Linked DNA regions of Homo sapiens: region 2 is linked to region 1. The links are contacts of gene promoters, found by promoter capture Hi-C in blood cells and fetal thymus (Javierre and others, 2016). All regions are on one chromosome and are shown on one strand. Each heading gives the region's core, a stretch centred on a gene start or on the middle of the fragment in contact. The rest is flanking DNA. Distances are from core to core; before and after follow the strand shown. Region 1 holds the start of LINC01675 (long intergenic non-protein coding RNA 1675). Region 2 holds the start of UCK2 (uridine-cytidine kinase 2).

What was found. Contacts are between HindIII fragments. The CHiCAGO score rates a contact against its expected background, and 5 or more counts as called.
Region 2: a contact is called between the fragment with the promoter of UCK2 here and a fragment that was not itself captured in region 1, in 1 of 17 cell types (activated CD4 T cells). The highest score is 5.2, in activated CD4 T cells.

What each region holds. Positions count from the first base shown.
Region 1 is chr1:166,485,529-166,490,535 of GRCh38, reverse strand. LINC01675 (long intergenic non-protein coding RNA 1675) reads left to right here and starts at 497. Exons shown (of 3, transcript NR_146890.1): 1 at 497-675. RefSeq lists an enhancer at 325-494. The HindIII fragment of the contact is 5,186 bases long and covers 377-5,007 here.
Region 2 is chr1:165,825,249-165,830,255 of GRCh38, reverse strand. It overlaps UCK2 (uridine-cytidine kinase 2), which reads right to left and starts at 2,642. Exons shown (of 7, transcript NM_012474.5): 1 at 2,324-2,642. The coding sequence starts at 2,422. RefSeq lists silencers at 1,754-1,983, 2,044-2,523, 2,604-2,853 and an enhancer at 1,735-2,288. The HindIII fragment of the contact is 2,018 bases long and covers 909-2,926 here.

The DNA.
Region 1 (5,007 bases), core at 1,720-4,219:
CTCTCTCCTGAATTAGCACAACAGTCTCATTACTGGGCCTATTGCTTTCACCCTTTGTGAGGGACTAAGTGGCTAAGTTGGCTGGACTTCCTGGGCCAATAGGAACTTCCCTAAGGGGACTTTCCCCTAAGCCAAAATGAGTCACAGCTGCAAGCTAAGGGATTGAAACCTCAACCAATCATATAGGGAGTTTAAGCTCTAGCTGCAGCCTGATGTTTTTAACCAATCAGGCCCGTCAACCCACAAGCGGATTGAAAATAAGCTAGTTATGTAGGACAGAAAAAGGAAAAGACGAGGGGTCATAAGGGGACATAAGCATAAGACAGAAGCAAAAAAACGGCAGCCCTTCCAGGTCCCCTTCCACCACGTGGAAGCTTTACTTTTGCTTTCATTTTACTTTCGCTTTTGCTCTAATAAATCTTGCCACCGCACCCTCTTTGGGTCCGCGGGTTTCTCTAATCTAGCTGTAACACTCGCCACTGCGGCCCACGGCTTCATTCCTGGAAGCCCGTGAGACCAGGAACCCTTCGATCGAGAAAAGACCTTCCATTGGGAGAAGACTTCTCGTCTTATTTCCACCTATAATCTCTTCAAAACATAGCAGTCAGAGTTACCTGCTGAACTCATAAGTCACTCATCTGCTCAAAGCCTCCCAGTGGCTTCTCATCTCACAGAGTAAGTCAGGCTGCTTACAGTGGCCCACGAGGAGCTTCACAGTTTAACTGGCTCTCTAGCTCTCTCTTGCTCTCTCTCTCTCTCTCTCTCAATGACCTCACCCTTCACTTCTTCCCCTTGCACACACTGAACATGCCACACCTCAGACATGCCAGGCACACTCCTGACTCAGGGCTTTTGCCCTTGCTTTTCCCTGGACCTAGGCATCCTTCCCCTAAATAGTGCCAATGCACCCTCTCTACCTTCAAGTCTTTGCTCTTTCTCAAATGCCACTTTCCAAGTCCCTTTCTGGCCCCCTGCTCTTCCTCTTTCTTATTACGCCCTTTTCTTTCCCATGTCACAATCTCTTCTAACTATATAATTGTCTATTTTACTTTATATAAACCTCTTTCGCCAGAATCTGTAAGCTCCAGAAACATAAGGGCTTTTGTTGGTTTTGTGTATTTCCCTATTCCTAGATCCTAGAACAGGGCCTGGCACATGATATAGGCTCAATAAATATTAGTGGTATAGATGAAATTATTAATTCTATGGACCTTCATCCTTCATTGAGAAACAGTGGTTACAGGGAGGGAAGGGGGAAAGAATTGGCTTAAGACCTAAATGATTTACATTTACTCCCTTCAAATGTAAACAACTGCTGACCATATGAATATTCTTGGACAAATCTCTTTATCTCTCTGGGCTTCAGTTCTCTTATGTGTATAAATAATGGGTTAAACTAAGTAGTCTCCATAAACATTCTTACTTTAGTATTCTTTAATTCTCTAAACCTCTTGTCCCTGCACTGTCTCTGGGATTTACTCTCTATCTCTCTCCCTTTTAAATGTTCTTTATCCATTCATCAATTCTATAAGCAATAATTGAGCATATTCAATGGGCCAATCCCTGGTCTGAGCCCTGAGGATATACGGTTGAATAAAATAAGAATTTCCACGGGGGAGAAGGTAAGTGAAGAAAGGCAGCTCATATACTTCAACAAGGTGGTCACTGTTGTCCTATGGAGGCCAGAGCCTTGAGTGTATGTTGGGTGCCGGTGGGAGATGGTGGGGAAGTTGGAAGAGGATGGGGCTGGGCTTCACTCATGGCTGCATAATGCACAGGAAATCCAGAAGCTGACCCTCTATAATAAAGAAGGCTATTGATTTTAGCAGTTTTCTGGTATCAGAGTTCTGGTTTTGTGGCTGTAGTATTTGTAGTAGTGGCAAAACGCTAGCCCATCTCTGCTACAAAACATACAGAGAAGATGAGGCTTCTACAAAAGGCTTAGCTCATTACAGTTGGGGTCAACCTGTCTTTCTGGCTTGATGCCTACCTGAGTGAGCAAGCAAAAAAGATTGCTGGCTGAAGCACTCTCTACCCTGCTCACCCAAGGGCCACCTTAGGACAGCTTCTGACTGATGTTTGGAGAATTTCCCAGGAAGCTAACTTGAGGCAAGGGGAGGACATGAGAAATGGAAGACAACAAATTAAACATTGCCCATCCCTTCTGAAACATACAAAGCCTTCGGAACACCCTCCATTTGCAGAAGATTTATTTCTCGAATTATATATTTAAGGGCCTGAGTCAGTCAATTATCTACCTTCACAGACCTATCTTGCTGCATAAACAGATTTCCATTTCCTGATGCTGTCCTTAAATGGCAAATAGTAAAACACTGGGAGAAGGTGGCTGACATTGCTCTGTAGGTGTCTCTAAAGAGTCTAGTGTGATCTGATGCATCTCCTGGGGCAAACACAGATGCATGTGAGAAGAGAAGGTGCAGAAGGGCTCAGCATATATGGGAGTGGACCATCACCTCTCACTCCAAATCCTGGAGCTGCTTTCTGCTGTCCTTTCTTTTTATGCCAATGATGTAGCCAAAACTGCCTGCATTGTTGTCACTTCAGATTTTGGACTCTTGTAGGGATGTTCTAACATACTCCAGTCCTTGCTTTTGTGGCTTTTCCCTCAGTCATCCAGTCAACAAACCTTTACTGTGAGCCTAGTATAGGCTGCTCTCCAGGCATTGCTAAAGGAACAAATATTAACCTGGCACCGTCCAAACCCAACAAACTCAATACTCTAGCTGGGAGACAAGCATTAAGCAATAATTACAATGCAGTATGTTATAGGCAGTAACATAAATACGTTTAAGAAATGTAAGTGTCACAAGAAATAAAAATGTATAACTTCAAGAGAGGCAGGAACAGAGAAGATTCTCAAAAGAGATGTTATCTGAGCTAGGTTTCTAAGAATCAATAGAAATTTATCACATGGATAAGAGTCAGAACAACTGAGGAATCTGCACATGCACAGGCACAGAAGTGAGCCGCAGTAGACCCATGTGCAGGGAACCACAGGTCCTTAAAGCATTCTCAGAGTGCAGCACAAAAGCCAAGGTACTGAGAGAAGACAGGTTCCCAGGGGTCTGCTGGCGAAGGTGGTATTTGTCATAAGGAAGACTTTTCTTACTGACATGAAGCATCACTGGAGGCTTTCAAACAAGACAGTGCCATGGTCAGGTTGGGGTTTTAGAAATATCACCCTATAAATAGTGGAGAAAAGATCAAGCAGTAAACGTGATCAGAATGAAAGGGGGTAAGTGACAAGTGAAGGTAAGGGCGTGCAAAGATGGAGGAGGCAGACAACACTGGCATTTAGGAGGCAGAGATACAGAGCTCAGGGACTGCTGGATTGCTTGGTTGTGGAAGAAAGGGAGAATGAAGCAACAAGCTGGGTGGCAGGCTCTGATTTGGTGGCTGGCTCAGTGGTGACCCCTCCAACCTCCAGGCCTCTGTTTGGACACATGTGACAACAATGGCCACCCTGTTGGAGTGTATGAACTGCCTTTCTTCACTCACATTCCTCTCTCCAGTTCTGAGGTCAGGGGTCTTATCTTATTCAACAAGTGTCCTGCCCTGTGTTTGGCTTACAGAATATGCTCAATTATTGCTTTTAGAATTGGTGAATGAATAAAGGAAGTCTAAAAGGGAGAGAGAGAGTAAAACCTGGAGACAGTGCAGGGACATGAAGTTTAGAGCATTAAAGAATGTTAAAGTAAAAACATTCATGGAGATTATTTAGTTCAACCTGGTAATTATACAGATGAAGAAACTGAGGCCCAGAGCACTAAGATATTTGTCCAACGTCACACACCTGAGATAATAAGACAGAGTAATGGGCAAGTTGGGGATGGAGAGATGATGAATTCAGTTTGGATGCCATTACATTTGTGATGCTTGTGGTGGTAAATGCAGATTATCATATCCAATGTGCTGTTGGAATGTGATGTTCAAGAGAAGGGTCAAGTCTAGACATACAAATTTGGGATACAGATCATACTAAGACCATACCTCATGAGAACAGGCTGAGTCAGGAGCCAGGAGGGCCACAAGGGGAGCTCTAGTAATCTCAGAGATGGCATAACATGGTAGGAAGCAGCACACCAAATTGATCGGCCTTCCTGTGCCTCAGTTTCCCCAATCTATTTTCTAAGGTTGTCATGTGTTATATAAAATGAATGTATATTTATAAGACAGCAGTGCCTGGCATGAACTAAGGTCTAAGTAAGTGTGAAAATGAATATATAAACACTAATATTTGATGGTGGACAGAGGAAAAAGACTCAGAAAATCAGTAAACTAGGTATGACAAGAATGGTAGGAGGAAATCAGGCAACTATGGGAACATCAATGACCAAGGAAGAGACAGTGTAAAGAAGGCAGGAGCAATTATGTGGCAGATGCTAAAGAAAGACTAAAATCAGAAAGTGCCTATTGGCTTTGGCAGTTGAAAGTTCACTGGTGATTTTAGAGCCTCGTTGGTGGGTGCTCAGGGGGAAGAGGGGTGGGCTGAAAAGTGAGTTAGGGGCAAGAAGTGGGAGGGCTGATGTGGGCAGTTGGCTCAGGGTGAGGCTGGCAAAGTGGAGGAACCCTGAGCTGTTGAACTCCTTTCTAGTGAGGCTCTGCAACAAGTCTCACCTACAACACAGGCCGAGTCTCTTCCCCATCCCAAAGTCATCATCTGTAAAATGAAGGCAAACTTGACCTCCACATTCCTATCAGCTATGATGGTTGAATACTTTTCTTGTTACTAACATATGATGGTGATCAAATTCTTTTTCACTTAGAAATGTACCTGAGTCAGCTAGTGGCATTCTTGTTAAAATCTTGTTTTGAGTTTATGGAAATAGATGCTATGAGGGCTGGTTTATTTTTAAATTTATGTAGTGTTTTCAATGTACAATTTTGCACTTGATCCTTAGGCATGCACGTTGTTGGTATTGTCACTTTATCTGTGAAGCCGACTTCAAACAATAGGGTAATTTTTCTCAAAGTCACAAGAGAAGT
Region 2 (5,007 bases), core at 1,393-3,892, 660 kb after region 1:
GAGGCGGGCGGATCACTTAAGTCTAGGCATTTGAGATCAGCCTGGCAACATGGCAAAACCCCTTCTCTACAAAAAAAAAAAAATTAGTCGGGCATGATGGTGCAAGCCTGTAGTCTCAGCTACTCTGGAGGCTGAAGTGGGAGGATCACTTGAGCCCAACAGGTGGAGGGTACAGTAAGCCAAGATCTCACCACGGCACTCCAGCCTGGGCAAAAGAGTGAGACCCTGTCTCAAAAACAAAACAAATCAAACAAACAAAAAAATTAGCCAGTCATGATAGTGCCAGCCTGTACTCCCAGTTACTCCAGGTTGAGGCTGAGGCTGCAGTGAGCTGTGACAGTGCCACTTACTCTGGGCTAGGTGGAAATGCGAGACCTTGTCTCAAAAATTAAATTAATAAATAAAAATGTACAACATGCTTTGAAAACTGCAGAAAAACGGACCCTTCCTTTCTTGAGAGTTTCTACACTCTTCCTCCTGGATAAAAATAGCAGAGAATTAGCTACTCCCACATTGGCTCACCACTATCCCATCCCTCACTTTACCCAAGTAACACCAAAAGCTTGATTATCAAGTTAGAACAGGTGACGACTGAGAAACACACAAGAAGAACAATAACAGAGTTATTCACCTTTTAGGGTCGCAGTTTTCACCCTCGTGGTAACTAAATTATTCAGATGATTACCAAGATCATTTTGTTTCTAAAAGCTCATATGCAAGTTTAAGCCTCCTCCCCACTTTAGGAGGACTGGACTTCAGCTTAAAATTTGGACCCCACTACATGCCAGGCAGGCATTGTGCTAGGAGGGCTGGGAAAACAGCCATGAACAACAACAACAAAAAATGCTCCCAATCCAACAGGAATATGCCAGAAGAGCAAGAATAATTCTAAAAGAACAGGTAAAGCTTCCTGAAGGGCTAGCATTCTGGTTTTGCTTTGAATTACTAGTATAAGTCATAGTAAAGAACATACTCAAAAATTACAAATTTTTTTAAAAGCCTTCAACCAGGGAGCACACAGAACAGAAACTTCAGGACCTAAAGCAGGCCGATTCCTAACCCCGGGAGCTACGGACGAGATCAACTTCATCAATAAAGAAGTCCAGCAGCGCCAGCCGCCGTGTCTGGCTGGGCTCCTTGCGCTAAAGTAGTCCAGACCAGGAGGGAAAAATGTAAAACCAACATGGAGGAGGGGCTACTGACGAGTCGGTTCGGGAGCTAAAACCTCGTGGCTCTTTCCTCATGGCGCCAACCAGCCTTCCTGCTCTGCTCTCCCCAGCCGGGAGAAGCATCATCCTGCCTCTCCAAACCAGCACCCAGCACCCAGCTCTCAGGATCCCTTGAGGAACCCGTGCTCCAAATGAAGTTGGAGGGTGTTAAACGGTGGGAAAAACAAGTAGCCACATCTTAAAGGCTGTTAGGGGAGCAAAGAAAGAACCATCTGGGAGGACTCCACCCTTCTCCACCTGCAGAAAAAACCCCGGGTAAAGCTAGGAAGTCATTTCCCTTGTCTCTCCTTGCCTTGCGGATAAAACAAAGGAAACAGGCTCCTAAGAGGGTCAGACACCCATACGATGACCCCCTTCCGTGGATCCAAGACGCGTACGTCCTGGACACCGAAGAGCTTGGAGCCAGTACAACTTTCTCATTGAAGCCGACCACGTTTCCTCTTATAACCTTAAAAAACAGAAGCCCCTACTATTATCGTTTCATTGATGTCACGGCACCTATTTGGCTCTCAGACTTTTACCCGGAAACCCCTGTAATCCCCAGCCCTTGCGTGCAGCCCCACACTGGGCTCCCCTTCCCCGGGATGCCGCCTCGCGCGTTCCCGCCACCCTCGCCCTCTCGGCCGCGCTTCCCGGCTCGCTCCGCCCTCGGCACCAGGCTGCGCCGCGGGGCGAGCACGTCTGTGCCAGACCGGGGCTTGAGGGAGTCCATCGGGGGTTAGTGGGGGATCCTGCGGAAAGCCCTCTCCCCCGACACTGGAGTTGCAAAACAATAAGCATCCGCTTCCCTGCCCTTCCCCCATAGGACCCCGGCCACGAGTTATTAACGCGGGGGGAGAAAAGCCGGAGGAGCACTCCCGCCCTGCGATCGTGGCCGCGTACCCCCGGAACCCCCAAGGCCCGAGTCTTCGCCTGCCCCCGCCGCAGCGCCCCCAGGCCGCGCGGGGCGCACTCGGCGCTGGAGCGCGGCCGGGAGCGGAGGCGCGCGGGCCACGCGGTGGCTGCCGCAACTGACACGGCCCGCGGCCGCCGGCCACATGCGCCGCCCAGGGACAGAAGCCGGGAAGGGAGCGCGGCTCCGGGCCCCGCCGTACCTTGCCGCTAGCTGTTCCCCCGCTGACGCCTATAAGGAAGGGCTCGCCGCCGTTGGGCTGCTGGTGGTTCTGCAGGGTCTGCTCGCTGTCCCCGGCCATGGTTCGCGCCGCCCCTCCTCCCGCTGCCTGTGCGAACGGACGCACGCTCCCCGCCCGCGCCCGCGTCGGACTCCCTCCGCTTTCCGCAGCCGCCGCTGGGCGCTGCCGGGGCTGAGGCCGCTGTCGCTCGCCTGCGAGCCGCTCGGAGCCCGGTGACGGGGCTGGGTTTCCCGAAGGAGCCAAGAGCCTTCCTTTGCCCGCAGCGGCTGGTCCGGTTTACATCCCAGGCAGAGGTCAGCGTGATGCTGCTGCTCCAATCCGGGCGGGCAGCGCGCTGCTATTCGCCGAGGCGGAGGCGGCGAGGCGTCTGGCCCCAGCCTCCGCCCCTCCCGGGCCCCGCCGCCGCCCGAGGTCTCTGCGAAAGGTGTGAGCCCGACCTTCCCTCCCACCCGCCCGGTTAACCCTTTCTCCGACGCGCCCTAGTGGACCCTGGGGGAAAGAAACAGGCTGTTCTGTATTTTAATTTGGTATGCTACCACCTATTTTCAGAAGGGATAAAAAGCTTGAAGGAAATAATAGGCAGATTAGATAAGAAGGAATGGCCCAGGTTTGAGAAGCAAAATTTGAACAAGCTTGAAAGATTAGTGTGGAACGAAGAGTTAATGTCATTTACCCATTATCCAGGCTAAAAACTTGTGTTTCCAAAAAATGAGGGTTCTTTTTCCCTTCTCCCGTTCGCCAAGATAATATGTCAGCCGCTGGCTTTAGATATTTCCTGTCTTGGAAACCCCCCAGCGCCATCCTTTTTAGCAGGCCTGTCCTCGTGCGACTCTCTAGTGAAGGGCAATTTGAGGGGCTTATCTGAAGGGTGCCCTCCGTTGGAAAAGCAATTCCCTTCTAAACCACAGTATCTCATCCCATACACTGAGCTTCCTATGGAGTTAGGGTATCTGAAAACATACTGACATTTTGATCCATTAATATCTTCAATTGAACGGTTTTCCAGAGATTGGCAATCAGTCACTTAGAAAGGCAGTTTCAGACTCCACCTCTGGAGCCAGATTTCTGCATTCACATCCAGGTCCCTGAGCAAGTTACTTAATCTCTCTGTGCTTCAGTGTTCTTATCTGTTAAATGGGAATAATAATGGCAATTACATCCCAGGATTTTTGTGAGAATTAAATGAATTAGTGTATGTAAAGTTCTCAGAACAGTGCTGGTACAGTCTAGGCCCTGTATTAGTGTTTGAAGAGAAAAGGTTTCTAAAGCGCTGAAACTGGAAAGAAAAGTTTTGCTGGGACACACCTGAGAGAGGCAGGACTAGCCTAGTAACTTCCAGTCTCTTCTCCTGTGAACTTGGGACTAGTATCAATGAGCTGATGGGGCCTACAATCTAAAACAGAATTTACGTCAATAGCATTATCTTTTGAAACTTAGTAAATTACCTTAAATTGAAGATTATTTTGAAAAAAATAATTTTCTCTCAAGCCAGGGAAATCGAGGCTGCAGTGAGCCATGATCTCCCCACTGCACTCCAGCCTGGTCAGCAGAGCCAGAGCCTGTGTCAAAAAACAAAAACAAAAACAAAACAAAACAAAAAAAAGGATACCAGAGAAAACAAACTTTTTTCACTTTTAAATTAAAGTTGACACTTGAACAACACTGGTTCAAACTGTGAGGTTCACTTTTATGCAGCTTTTTTTTTAAACCAAGGGCAGATGGAAAACACAATATTTGTGCAGTTTCCTCAGGACTGACTGTGGGACTTCATGTGTGGATTTGGTTACATGTAGGCTGTCCTGGGACCAGTCCCTCCGCATATATCTAGGAATTACTGTATTTTATGTCACCATCTAACATCAAACTCGGTAGCAGCTCAGACAGGAGACAAAGATGGGGAGAGTGGCCACTACCTGGTACCCAGAAGCAGGCATTTGGGTGAAGTTTCCTAAAGGGGTGCCTTACCAAATAGCTATGGAGTGGGTGAGTTTTAGGTGGTCCTAGAGTTAGCCTCTTCTCCAAAAGGTCTTTTCTCTACTAGATAGATTTATTAGTCATCATGGACTTTTGTAGAACTCTTTATAGCCCATTGGAATTTGGAAGTTGAACCTACAGCTAAGGGTTAGCATGGGGATATTAGGTAGTTAAGGAGAAGAGGAGGAGGATAAAGGAATGCCAAAGGCCAGTGGGGTGGCTCATGCCTGTAATCCCAACATTTTGGGAGGCAGAAGAGTGAGGATCACTTGAGGCTAGGAGTTTGAGACCAGCCTGGGCAACATAATGAGACCCCCATCTCCACAAAAAGTACAAAAATTAACTGGGCATGGTAGTGCACACCTGTAGTCCCAGCTACACCAGAGGCTGAGGCAGGAGGATCACTTGAGCCCAGGAGTTCGAGGTTGCAGCTGTGATCATGCCATTGCACTCCTCTATCGACTTGTCTCTTAAAAAAAAAAAAAGAATGCCATGTCTTTCATAAACTTTTCTCAAATCTGCATCTTCCTTGTCATTCCTATAGTGTTTATTCCATAATATTTTATCATAAAAATTTTCGAGCACAGTTGAAAGATTTTACAGCAAACACCAGTATACCCACCACCTAGACTCTATCACTAACATCGTACTATATATATACTTGCTTTAAA